Regions from separate parts of the Homo sapiens genome. Here region 1 is linked to region 2. Evidence: promoter capture Hi-C in 16 types of primary human blood cells and fetal thymus (Javierre and others, 2016). All regions are on one chromosome and are shown on one strand. The core of a region is centred on a gene start or on the middle of the fragment in contact, and the rest is flanking DNA. Distances in the headings are between cores, read along the strand shown.

Evidence for each region. Contacts are between HindIII fragments. The CHiCAGO score rates a contact against its expected background, and 5 or more counts as called.
Region 1: a fragment that was not itself captured here is called in contact with the fragment with the promoter of SCEL in region 2 in 1 of 17 cell types (naive B cells); the score reaches 5.0 in naive B cells.

Annotation. Positions count from the first base shown.
Region 1 is chr13:77,271,224-77,276,962 of GRCh38, reverse strand. MYCBP2 (MYC binding protein 2) reads left to right here. Exons shown (of 83, transcript NM_015057.5): 5 at 3,295-3,491. Among named protein-coding and RNA genes, the nearest start is that of MYCBP2, 53 kb to the left of the region's middle. The HindIII fragment of the contact is 632 bases long and covers 3,042-3,673 here.
Region 2 is chr13:77,532,813-77,538,619 of GRCh38, reverse strand. SCEL (sciellin) reads right to left here and starts at 2,914. Exons shown (of 33, transcript NM_144777.3): 1 at 2,796-2,914. The HindIII fragment of the contact is 4,847 bases long and covers 1-4,484 here.

The sequences.
Region 1 (5,739 bases), core at 2,108-4,607, 260 kb after region 2:
CATTATTGGCTGGGTGTGGTGGCTTATGCCTGTAATCCCAGCACTTTGGGAGGCTGAGGCAGGAGGATAGCTTAAGGCTGGGAGTTTGGGACCAGTCTGGGCAACTTAGACCCCTATCTCTCCAAAAAAAAAAAAAAAAAAAAAAACTGGGCATGGAAATGAGTGCTACTCAAGAGGCTAAGGTGGGAGGACCGCTCGAGCCCAGGAGTCTGAGGCTACAGTCGGCTGTGATCATGCCACTGCGCTGCACTCTAGCTGGGTGACAGAATGAGACCTCATCTCTACCAAAAAAAAAACCCCCAAAAAATCCCACAAAACCCAAAAATATTTCACCTTATTAATCTGTTCATTTTTATTTTCTTGTTTAAAGTTTCAAATTCTGCTGTACTGCCTTTCGTCTGTCTTCCATCCTTTCAGTGTTTACTGCTGATCTCGTCACTGCTTTGGCTTATTTTTCTATGTAAGGGATTTATTATCACTTCATGTTTTCTATTTTGTTAAATTAGCTCAAAGATAAAAGCACTGATTTGGTTCTTTTATACTAAATTTCTTTTGAAACTTGCCTCTCCTCCTTTTTTTAATCTAATATCACAATCTTATTGGTTATCCTTTTTTTCCCATTCGGTTGTTTTCGTGTTATTCATGAAAATATGTGTATATTTATATAACTCTTACTGTGGAACATCTTGATGATTAGTATACACCAAGCTTCTTCTCTTTGCAAATAGATTTTGATTTTTAAATTATCTATTTAAAAATATATTTCCTTATATCCATATATTCTGTTCAATTAGATTATATTCTCGAGTACTCACTGAAATGTAATAGCACCCCCTTTGTTATGTGCTAAGAATGTGCGATACTATTGCTGTTATTATGGAACTTAGCATCAGAGAGTTGGATATGTGTATAATTACAAATGTGGATAAATCGTATGGAGGAAAGTAGAAGGAGTTCTGAGAGTCCTTTTTTGTTTTTTGAGACGGAGTCTCGCTCTGTTGCCCAGGCTGGAATGCAGTGGTGCGATCTTGGCTCACTGCAACTTCCACCTCCTGGGTTCAAGCTATTCTCCTGCCTCAGCTTCCTGAGTAGCTTGGACTACAGGCGCGTTCCACAATGCCCGGCTAATTTTTGTATTTTTAGTAGAGACAGGGTTTCACTATGTTGGCCAGGCTGGTCTCAAACTCCTGACCTCAGGTGATTTGCCCACCTCAGCCTCCCAAAATGCTAGGATTACAGGCATGAGCCACTGCGCCTGGCCAAGATTCCTTTTTTAACTTAAAAATTTTTTATTTATTTATCTTTAGGGACAGGATCTTACTATATTGCCCAGGGTAGCCTCAAACCCTGGACTCAAGTGATCCTCCTGCCTCCACCTCCCAAGTAGCTGTGACTATAGGTACACACTGCTGCACCCAGCTCCTTCTGAGAGTCTTTAACAGGCTCCCTGAAGATGTGACATATGAGATTTAGAGGGTGAATAGGAGGGAGTGAATTCGATTATAAGTGCTCTAGGCAGAAATAACAGCATTTAGTAAGGCTCTGAGACAGAAAGGAGAATGAATGAAAAGAAGAGCAATATGGCTAGAATGTGGAGAGTGAAGGAAACAGTCTTGTGACAGGTGAGGAAGGAGGCAGGGACATGCAGAGCTTTACATGCCATGTTAAAGAATTTGATTAGTGGGCTAGGAGGAATGGAAAGTCATTCTCTATTTCATTACATGAAGAATATTGTTTTTTAAATAGCCTTATTTTCTTAAATTATTTGTTTAAACTATTGACTATTTTCTTTCCCTGGATTCTTAACCTTTTTGAAAGGGTAGAGACATTCTTTGTCATGTTTGCCAATACCCTAGTGTAGAATAGTTGCCAGTGTGTGAGAGTTCGGTATATATTTGCTGAATAATCAACAGATGTACTCACTGAAGGATAATAATTGGAGGAAGGATGGGTAGATGGAAATATGGACAAACAGGGATAGATGAAAGGATGGAGGGAAGGAAGGATAGCTGGAGGAAAAGGTAGAGGAAAGGATAAATGGAAAAAAATGGAAGTATAGGATGTGTACAGACAAGTGAAGAGAGGAAGGGGGAAAGAAAAGAAGACAGAAGGGAGGAAGAAATTAACAAAGGAGTGAAAGAATTTTAAGTAGACAATCAGATTTTTGGTTTGAAATTCTCCCTGGCTATTGGGGCAAAAGCGAATGGTAAGAGATAATTTCTTAACACTTTTTATCAAAGAGATGATGATAGCATGGATTGGAAAGATGATGATGAGATAGGGAAAAGTGGAGTTATCCATTAGGAAGTAAAATAAACAGGACTTAATTTGGGATTAGCTATGGAAGATGAGGGATTGGTAGGGGCTGCCTGGGTTTCTGTAAGTTACCAGATAACCCACAGGTGGCATTTTAGTTTTTAGAGAATTGCAGTACATTACTCCTCTTTCTCTTGTTCTCCTCCTTCTCTCCCTTCCCTTTCCCTCTCTTCATGTTTCTCAGTTTTTCTTTTTCTAACTCTCTTTTTCCCTCTCCATCTGATTATTCACTCTATAAGGATTTTCAAGTCTCCGTTCTATGGAAGAAATACCCAGATGTCTGTTGATTGAATCTTAGATGGAGGTGTTCAGGGAATTTTGTGCAGAGACCTCTGCTGGTTGTAAAACATTTGTGTGTGTGTGTGTTTCATCTTCACCACTAAATGACTTTATGATTTAGGAAAAATCTTTTGATACCACATATCTCAATTTCATTATTAAAGGGGGAGAATATCTGTCCTATTGACTTGGAGGTTTTTCTAGGGTATAAATGAATTACATCCTAAGTGTGAATTGCTATTATGTTAATGATATAGCCAATTTTATATTAAAGCACATTATTGCATATGTTTTATGTTTCTATTACTTTGAAAATATATACATAATTTCCTGGACACTTAACATTTTAAGAAGCCTCCTAATCTAAAAGGTAAAATAAGTATGACAAGTAGTCTATTACTTGATAGGATGAGTTTCTTGAATATGTGAATGCCTCTAGGCAAGCTTGTTTTAAAAGACCTTAGATTGTCTTTTTTTACTAAGAAAAATAAGGAGTTGAACTGAATGTTCTTTAAGACCCTTGTTACATAAATATTTTAACTTTTGGGGAAGAGAGTAACTAGAAAGAAACTAAAGCAAAGTAATTGTTCTAGATTCCTTAAATTTCGTTTATAATGAGACAAAGTAAAAATAAATAAATATACGCATATAATGTTCCGTATGTTGGATGAATATAATTGAATTCTATTTTATCCACAGAGTCTCTCTTCCAGCTTCTTTTGGAAATCACCGTTCGAAGTACTGGGATGAATGACAGCACAGGACAGTCCTTAACAGCACTTTCCTGTGCTTGCCTCTTTAGTCTGGTGGCTTCTTGGGGAGAAACAGGAAGGACACTTCAGGCCATCTCTGCTATCCTCACCAACAATGGAAGCCATGCTTGCCAAACTATTCAGGTATTTCATATTTATATCTGCTTAGAAGTTTATAAGATGACAAGTTACAGTTTCGTCTCAATTTCTGTCAATAGGAATTCTGCTTTTTCTCACTCATTACAGTAGCTTAATCTGTCCAAGATTGATACATAAATAATCTACAGTATTTCAATTAAGTGATATGTATGTTTAACTCTGAAGCTTTAAATATAATAAAATGAATTTTGGCCAGACCTCTTAAATCTTTAAGCTGGTCTTTGCCTTAACACCATAGCCTTCTCTTTCCTTGCTGTTTTCTTGCTGTCTGCGTTCTCCCTTCTTCCCATCTTTCCCTGAGTTTTTTAGTATGGAATTCATTCATGGTTTTAAATATCTTTTCTCTATTGAAAGAAAAAGATATGGTATCAATCTGATATATTTTTGATTGGTTGATTATGATTTTTTTATGAATTGATTCGTTTCTGAGTTACTTCAGCTGTGTATAAAACATTTTAGGCTTTTAATATTCAGTTGTGGAACAAACAAGCTCATCACCATTTTAGTGGTGGGAAAAATAATCCTTATAGGCAAACTTGACTTAATTATTTGGGAAGGCTCTGGAAATTGAGAAAGAAGTTATGATCTTAAGACCTGACTGTCTACTCTTCTCTGGCCCCTTGGGCAACCCTAGGGCAGGTGGAAGGGATGCCTCAATCCTGTTATTAGCAGACCAAAGATAGCAAAAGGAGTATATTGGTCATTTTCTGTCTTATTCAGTGATTTTGAACTCTCCTGGTCAAACAAGACCCATTCCCTTACTCAAGATTTCTGCTCTTTTCTTCCTTTCTGCCTTGCTTGGAATCCTTTTGTCCCTTTTTATGGTCCTTAATTATTTTGAAGTTGCTCTAATACAGTGGTTTTCAAGCTGTGTTCTGTAGACATGCTTTCAGGGTTTGGCAAATGTTTAATTTAAATATATGTTTAAAATATGCAAATATTTTAAAAATTGTAATAAAGTAACACAAACATTCAGATACCATATACCAGATTTTAATAGGATAGTGACCACCAACATATGAGCTTATGAATTTTGATATGATTTGCTTTTATATAGAGACTTAGGAATGCCATTAGAGCTCATAGCAGGAGTATAAGAACTACGTTCATGGAAAGCCTCCCAGAGGATATGAGGTGAGATCTAAACTAATGAGTTGAAATCAGCCAGGAGAAATTTTTGGTGTTGGTGGTGTAGAGAGAGAATGTTCTAGGTATCCACATGCTAAGGCATGGAGGTGAGAGTAAGAGTGAAATATTTGAAAGCTGAAAGAAGTTTAGTATAGCTATAGCATAGAGAGCTGTCAAATAGCGTAGCCACAGCATACAGAGCTGGCAAATAACAGAGACAGGACTCGAGGGCTTATCTGTCTCCAATATTTATGCTCAATCACTAGACAACACAAAACTACTTGATCCTCTGAATCAATAGCTGCAGTTCTCTACAGACCTGCCACATCACCACATCCCCAACTCTAGCCTAAACTCCATATTAAAGCCCATTACCTTAACATGGCTTGCAGTGCTCTTCATGATTTGGCCTTTTATCTACCAACTTCATTTCCCAAAACTCTCCTGGCCTGACTGTTGGTAGAGGGAGAAAAGCTTTCCCTGAGAATGTGTGCATTAAGTCCGTTTTCACGCTGCTGATAGAGATGTACCCGAGACTGGGCAATTTACAAAAGAAAGAGGTTTAATGGATTTATAGTTCCACATGGCTGGAGAAACCTCACAATCATGGTGGAAGGCAAGGAGGAGCAAGTCATGTCTTACGTGGATGGCAGCAGGCAAAGAGAGCTTGTTCAGGGAAATTCCTCTTTATAAAACCATCAGATCTCGTGAGGCTTATTCGCTATCATGAGAACAGCACAGGAAAGACTTGCCCCCATGATCCAGTTACCTCCCACTGGGTCCCTTCCACAACACGTGGGAATTCAAGATGAGATTTGAGTGGGAACACAACCAAACCATATGAGTATGTGTAACTCTTCACATCTCAGATTTGTTTTGGCACCCAAATGCATACTACTTGTCCATTTCATAAAGCTTAACAGAGAGTTTAAAGCAGGGTAGACATGGTAGTACTGCAAGATGCTGTATTGAAAGACACTGAAATCCTTTCTGGAGGGTTGAACTCTTGACTTCAAAGGCTTTCTGCAAATAAAACACTATTTATTGCATTTGAGCTCAGAAACAAATTAATAAAAAAAGCACATGGAAAAAGGCACCATTATTG
Region 2 (5,807 bases), core at 1,665-4,164:
ACTCATGTCCTTAAAAAATTTAGTAATCGACATGAAATGAAAGTCTAGTACGTGTAGCTGTCATTTGGCAAAGCATCCATGTGAGGAAGAGCTTCTCCCGAGCTTCAAAATCACAAGTTCATGGAAAAAAATCACAGTTTACCATTTGTACAATGGTAAGCTGGAAACACTTAAGGAATATAACTGATAAAGACTTTTGATTAAGGCCGGGCGCATTGGCTATGCCTGTAATCCCAGCACTTTGGGAGACCAAGGCGGGTACATCACTTGAGGTCAGGAGTTCAAGACCAGCCTGGCCAACATGGTGAAACCCCGTCTATACTAAAAATAGAAAAATTAGTCGGGTGTGGTGGTGCACACGTGTACTCCCAGCTACTCAGGAAGCTGAGGCAGGAGAATCGCTGGAACATGGGAGGCGGAGGCTGCAGTAACCCGAGATTGTGCCATCGCACTCCAGACTGGGGAAAAGAGCGAGACTCCATTTAAAAAAAAAAAAAAAAAAAAGACTTTTGATTCAGAAGTGAGCTTTGAACAACTCCAGCTATGTATGCAGCAATTAATACCTAAAATCTTTATTTCAAAGTACCCAGCCAAAGAAAATGGAAAATGATCAACAAATGGTCTAGAAGCAGGACAATGACAGAAAGCGAAGCCATATGGAACCAATAAAGATTTCCCTTGGACTGCAAGGCCAAAGATTTTATCCCCTCACTCTTAAGAAATGCTGGGAGTTGATGCCTGAACCGTATAAGATACTCTCAGTTAAACAATGTTTGCTTAATTTGACGGCTTCGTGAATTGTGTTCAGTTCATTCCACAGTATGAGCTCAGTCATTCAAAATTTGTTTTGTTTACATAGTCCCCAGGAATATGAACCTCTCAGGTATTTCATCATAATTCTGGTAGTCTGAGAAGGCAGTCAGGTAAGCATCACCTACAGAATGGCATTCGAGGCAAGGGTGTTCTGATTGTACAGACCACAGCTAACACACATACATCAGATCCCCTCCCTGCTGAGGGGCTACTGGCTCCTGAGATGAAAATCTCATAAATATAATAAACGGCAACACTGATTCCATAAGCCACAAGTTGGAAAACGTATTCTATTATGTCTTAGTCATACCATACACACTATAATATTTCCACATGTGCTGGGTAACCACAGTCTGTGATGGAGTGTGGCTCATTTATTGCTACTACATATTTTATGATAAAAAGCATTTGAAAAAATATTGAGAAAATTCAGTAAGACAAAAGACAAGCAATCTGGCATCGTGCTCTGGTTCTGCTACTCTGATCTTCACAAGTTGCTTAACATTTATGCTTTGATTTTCTCAACTAGAAAATTCAGGCATTAGACTAGATGGGCCTATGCTCCGTTTCAGTTGAAATATTCTGTCAATTAGATCTAAGATTTATACGACGCTAACATTCCAATAAAAATTCTGGCCTGTTGTTGGCATTCTATGCATATCCCGACATTTAGGATCATCTGAATGTTTTACTAAAATTTTTACTGTTGTCATTTCTCAGTTTTCTCAAATTGATGTTTCCAATACTTTAAACACTGGAGCACCACATATATTAGGAAGGCTTTATCTACGTTATAAACTATGGAAGTGAAAGACAGTTTTAAATGTAATCACATTTTATGAAAAATAAAATTATCCACACTTGCTACACTTTAGTTTTCTGGTTACTATAAACACTTGAAAGCCAAGTTGTAAAATTCTTCTGTAAACCTTTGGGAAATGAGCACTGGTGTGTCTAACCCCCTCTCAGACTGCAGGTGACCTTGTCAGCAATAGGAAGCCATGAGAACTCAAGTACTACAGATAGAGCCAGGTATGCTGTGGGGGCACCTCTCTGGAGGACACAGAGCTGCAATTTGCAAGCTGTGAGTGGCCCCTGCATTTGAATCCCACAGCTCTGTATCATAAATAGAAATGATGAGAAAAAACACAAGTCAGCTTAGCTATTAATTATAAAAGAAAGCTCTGTTAAAAGAACTCTTCTAGCCTTATCAAAAGTCTCCCAAAACTGGTTTTTCAGGACTAGGCTATGAATAAAGTTTGAAAATTGCCCCCATATACATTAATCACTCCTTAGGTTAGAATGCAGAATATACCATAGAGAAGTTGGCCAGATGCCCACAGATCCCTGTGAGGAACCATGTACCCTTATTCTGCTCCCACACCCTGCCTTTACTCCTTGGTACTTTCAAGTGAGAAATGGTGATTTTCTTATTTGGGGAAGATAGGGTGGAGACAAAAACCTCATAAATATAAACCTCTCTCTCTCTCATAGCTCAGCAACTTGCAATATTTTTAGCAGTAGAGAAAAAAATAAATATGACTTATTAACTATAAAGCAATATTTGAGTTCACTATTTCACTAAAAGCATCATTTATGAAAACAGAAAGATCCTTTAAAAAATGTTTGTATAGTCGCTTGAGAAAATAAACCAGCAGGTGCTGGTCCCTTCACTTAAAGAATTTATTATCCTTTGTGTGGCAGGATTCACCAGCTGACAGCTCCCACCCAGAAAATCAAATAGGTGCTCGTTTCTGTGATGCCCATAACGTGTAAAATTGCCAAGAAGTTCAATGCAATGTGACCTAAAAGTACAGCAAGGAAGAGCAGAGCTAACAGCCAGCTGGAGGCTGTCAAAATTTACAGGAAGAAAAGACAAAGATAATACAGTAAGTTCTAATTTTAATCATTTGTAAGGAACACAGAGAAAGCTGTGCACATACAGCAGATGTATTTCTGTTTGCAAGTATAATTCAACTTACCTCTATTGAGCAGAAAATCAGGACTTTTTGGCTAACCAGCCTGTAGTGATTCCCTGGGAGGATCTGGCTGAAAGAAATGGGAACCTAGAGTTTATTCAGTGGAGTCTCAACCTCTACCTGACTGTATTAGTGAACAGTTCAGAGGTTTCTTGCTCAGCGGCTGAGTCACTCAGGGAGGAGGTGTGTGGTATGCAACAGGGTGTCACCTTGTACAAATACCAGTTCAATTAAAGCATTCTCACTCATATACCTACTGTCTTTGTTTGAATTCTTTGTTTAACTTATGGCCTTATGCAAAAAAAAAAAAAACATATATATATATATGCTCCTGTGATCACCCTTTTAACTGATATCAACAGTATGCACAACCATATCACTGACAAGGTGGCATAGGACCCAACCTATTTTGTATTCTCTTTCAAAAAATAAAATTGAAAACTCAAGATAGAAGGAACCCCCATACACCCATAGTACCTGGAAGGCAGGGGCACAGACAAGCATGCAAGGAGTATATGGCTTAAAGGAATCTTCAAGACAAACAAATTCTCAGAAACCCAGGAACCCTAGGATTAGAAAACACAAAAGAAGTCTGTTCCACACATTCTACACCTAGACTATTTTGTAAAACTATCAGAGGGAAAATACACCTAGCATGTAAGAATTCTAATCTCTATCTTATTTATCCATGTATAAAAAAATGTGAAAAGGGGCCAGGCGTGGTGGCTCACATCTGTAATCCCAGGACTTTGGGCGGTGGAAGCAGGCGGATCACCTGAGGTCAGCAGTTCAAGATCAGCCTGGCCAACATGGTAAAACCTGATCTCTACTAAAAATATAAAAATTAGCTGGGCGTGATGGCACACACCTGTAACCCCAGCTATATTAAATAACTATAACACACCATGATAAAGTCATATACAGAAATTTTCAATGCCAGGCATCGCATAGTGGAGAGAAGGAAGAACCTGGAAGGTGATGTTGATGCAGAGTTTTAAAGTCTGAGTGGACAATGATTAGATGGTCAAGAAGAAGAAGAACCATTCATCCACTCTGGCAGGAGGAGGCAGGAGAATCACTTGAACCAGGGAAGTGGAGGTTACAGTGAGCCAAGATCACACCACTGCACTCTAGCCTAGGCAACAGAGTGAGACTGTCTCAGAAAAAAAAAAAAAATGTGAAAAGGATGGTTGAAACTTCTTTCAATGCTGAGGGCAGCAGTAGACCCAACATCAAAGGCTGCTTCTGGCCAGTTGCAGTGGCTTTCACTTGCACTTTGGGAGGCCAAGGTGGGAGGATCACTTGAGCCAAGAAGTTCGAGACAAACTGGGCAACACAGTAAGAGAAGATCTCATCTCTACTAAAAATAAAAAAATCAGCTGGGTGTGGTAGTGCATGTCTTTGGTCCCAGTTACTCAGGAGGCTGAGGCAAAGAGAGTCTCTTGAGCATGGGAGGACCAAGCCACAGTGAGCTGTGATCACACCACCGCATTCCAGTATGGGTGACAGAGTGAGACCCTATCTCAAAAAACAAAACAAACAGACAAAAAAAACAAAAAAAACCCAACAAAAAACAAAGGCTGCTTCCGCTGGGAGGAAGGAGTAACACTGAAGAGCCATTCTAGGCGGGGACTCCTGTTACAGGTTTTGAAACACACCTTCCCTAAGAGCCAAAGAGGCTTTAAAGAAGCTTAGCAAACATTGTTGAGAGAAGCCACGTCATCAGAACTTCCTGGGTGATCGTCATTCATATGTCACACCAGCAATGAACCAAATCCCCCCTGAACAACTGCTCCTGAAAACTACAATGCAGCTGAGTGACGCCCACTGAAATGACTGTAACAAGAAGCAGAAACCCAGACTGAAGAGCAAGGCAATTGCAGTATGTGGTCATTGTGACTGGGAGACCACTTCCTGTATGTTCCCTGATGTTCCCTTATTCTGGGCTGAGGAATTTGAAAATCTAAAATGGAAAATGTTCTTTCAAAGTAAAACATATATACGTGTCTACTCAGCTTTTTTATGGAATTTTATACATGCAAAATATTTTTAAAATATGCTTTAAGTTTCTGTGATGCCCAAAAATCTTGGTTTGAATATTAATATTACAAATGATAAAGCTGAAAAACAAAGACGTGACTTAACTCAAAAGATAAACTAGAAGCAATCTTCAGCCTTAGAACTTAGCCAAAAAGAAAGAAAACAGTTTAAGAGCTCCCTTGTAGGGATAAGTTGTAATTTACATTACAGAATGTTGAAATATATTACTTCATGAAACACAGAACCAGAAAGATAAGTTTTTATCTTATAATGAAGTAAAGTGCAGCTACTCAAGTTATGGATTTTGAGCTTCCAAGCAATTATTTCTGCATGCAATTAAGGGTTTCTCTTACTTTATACATCAGACCATCCACACTGCTAAGCCAAACCAGTGTTTTTTCATTTAGAATCAAATCTCTAGTATAAAAAGGGACTAATTCTAAACCATTGAGCAAAATTCAGACCTCTTCATGCTGAGCAGACATGACTGCCTAAAATTTAAAATCTCAAATGTGAAGAGGTTGAATCAAGAACGTTTTCGGGTGTGGAGGTAGCCAAATAGCCTGAGCATTAGTTTCACTCAGGTGTTTAACTGGGAAGACTTGGGCATGCTTGGAATAACTTGGCTTCACCACACCTATTCACTTTCAGTGTTGGAGTTCTTAAGATCTCTCTAGAACTGTAAGCTCAGAAGCTGAAATGCCAAATGGGTTTTATCTCAGGTACAAATGCCAATTGATTGGTGATGGCTTCCTGGAGGAATATGTTGAGGTTTGTAAGCAAGTAGGGACTCAACAAGGGAATGTCCATGGTTAATTAGCAATATCCACCACAGGTCTTGAATGGGGGAATGTTTTCTGACCCTGTCTCATAAAATTAGATGTTGCAACATCACATTGCTTTGTCTATGTGTTATATCCAAAGAAACAACCAGCCAAAATGAGCACCGTTTTTTTGAGTTTAGGTTCACAGCAA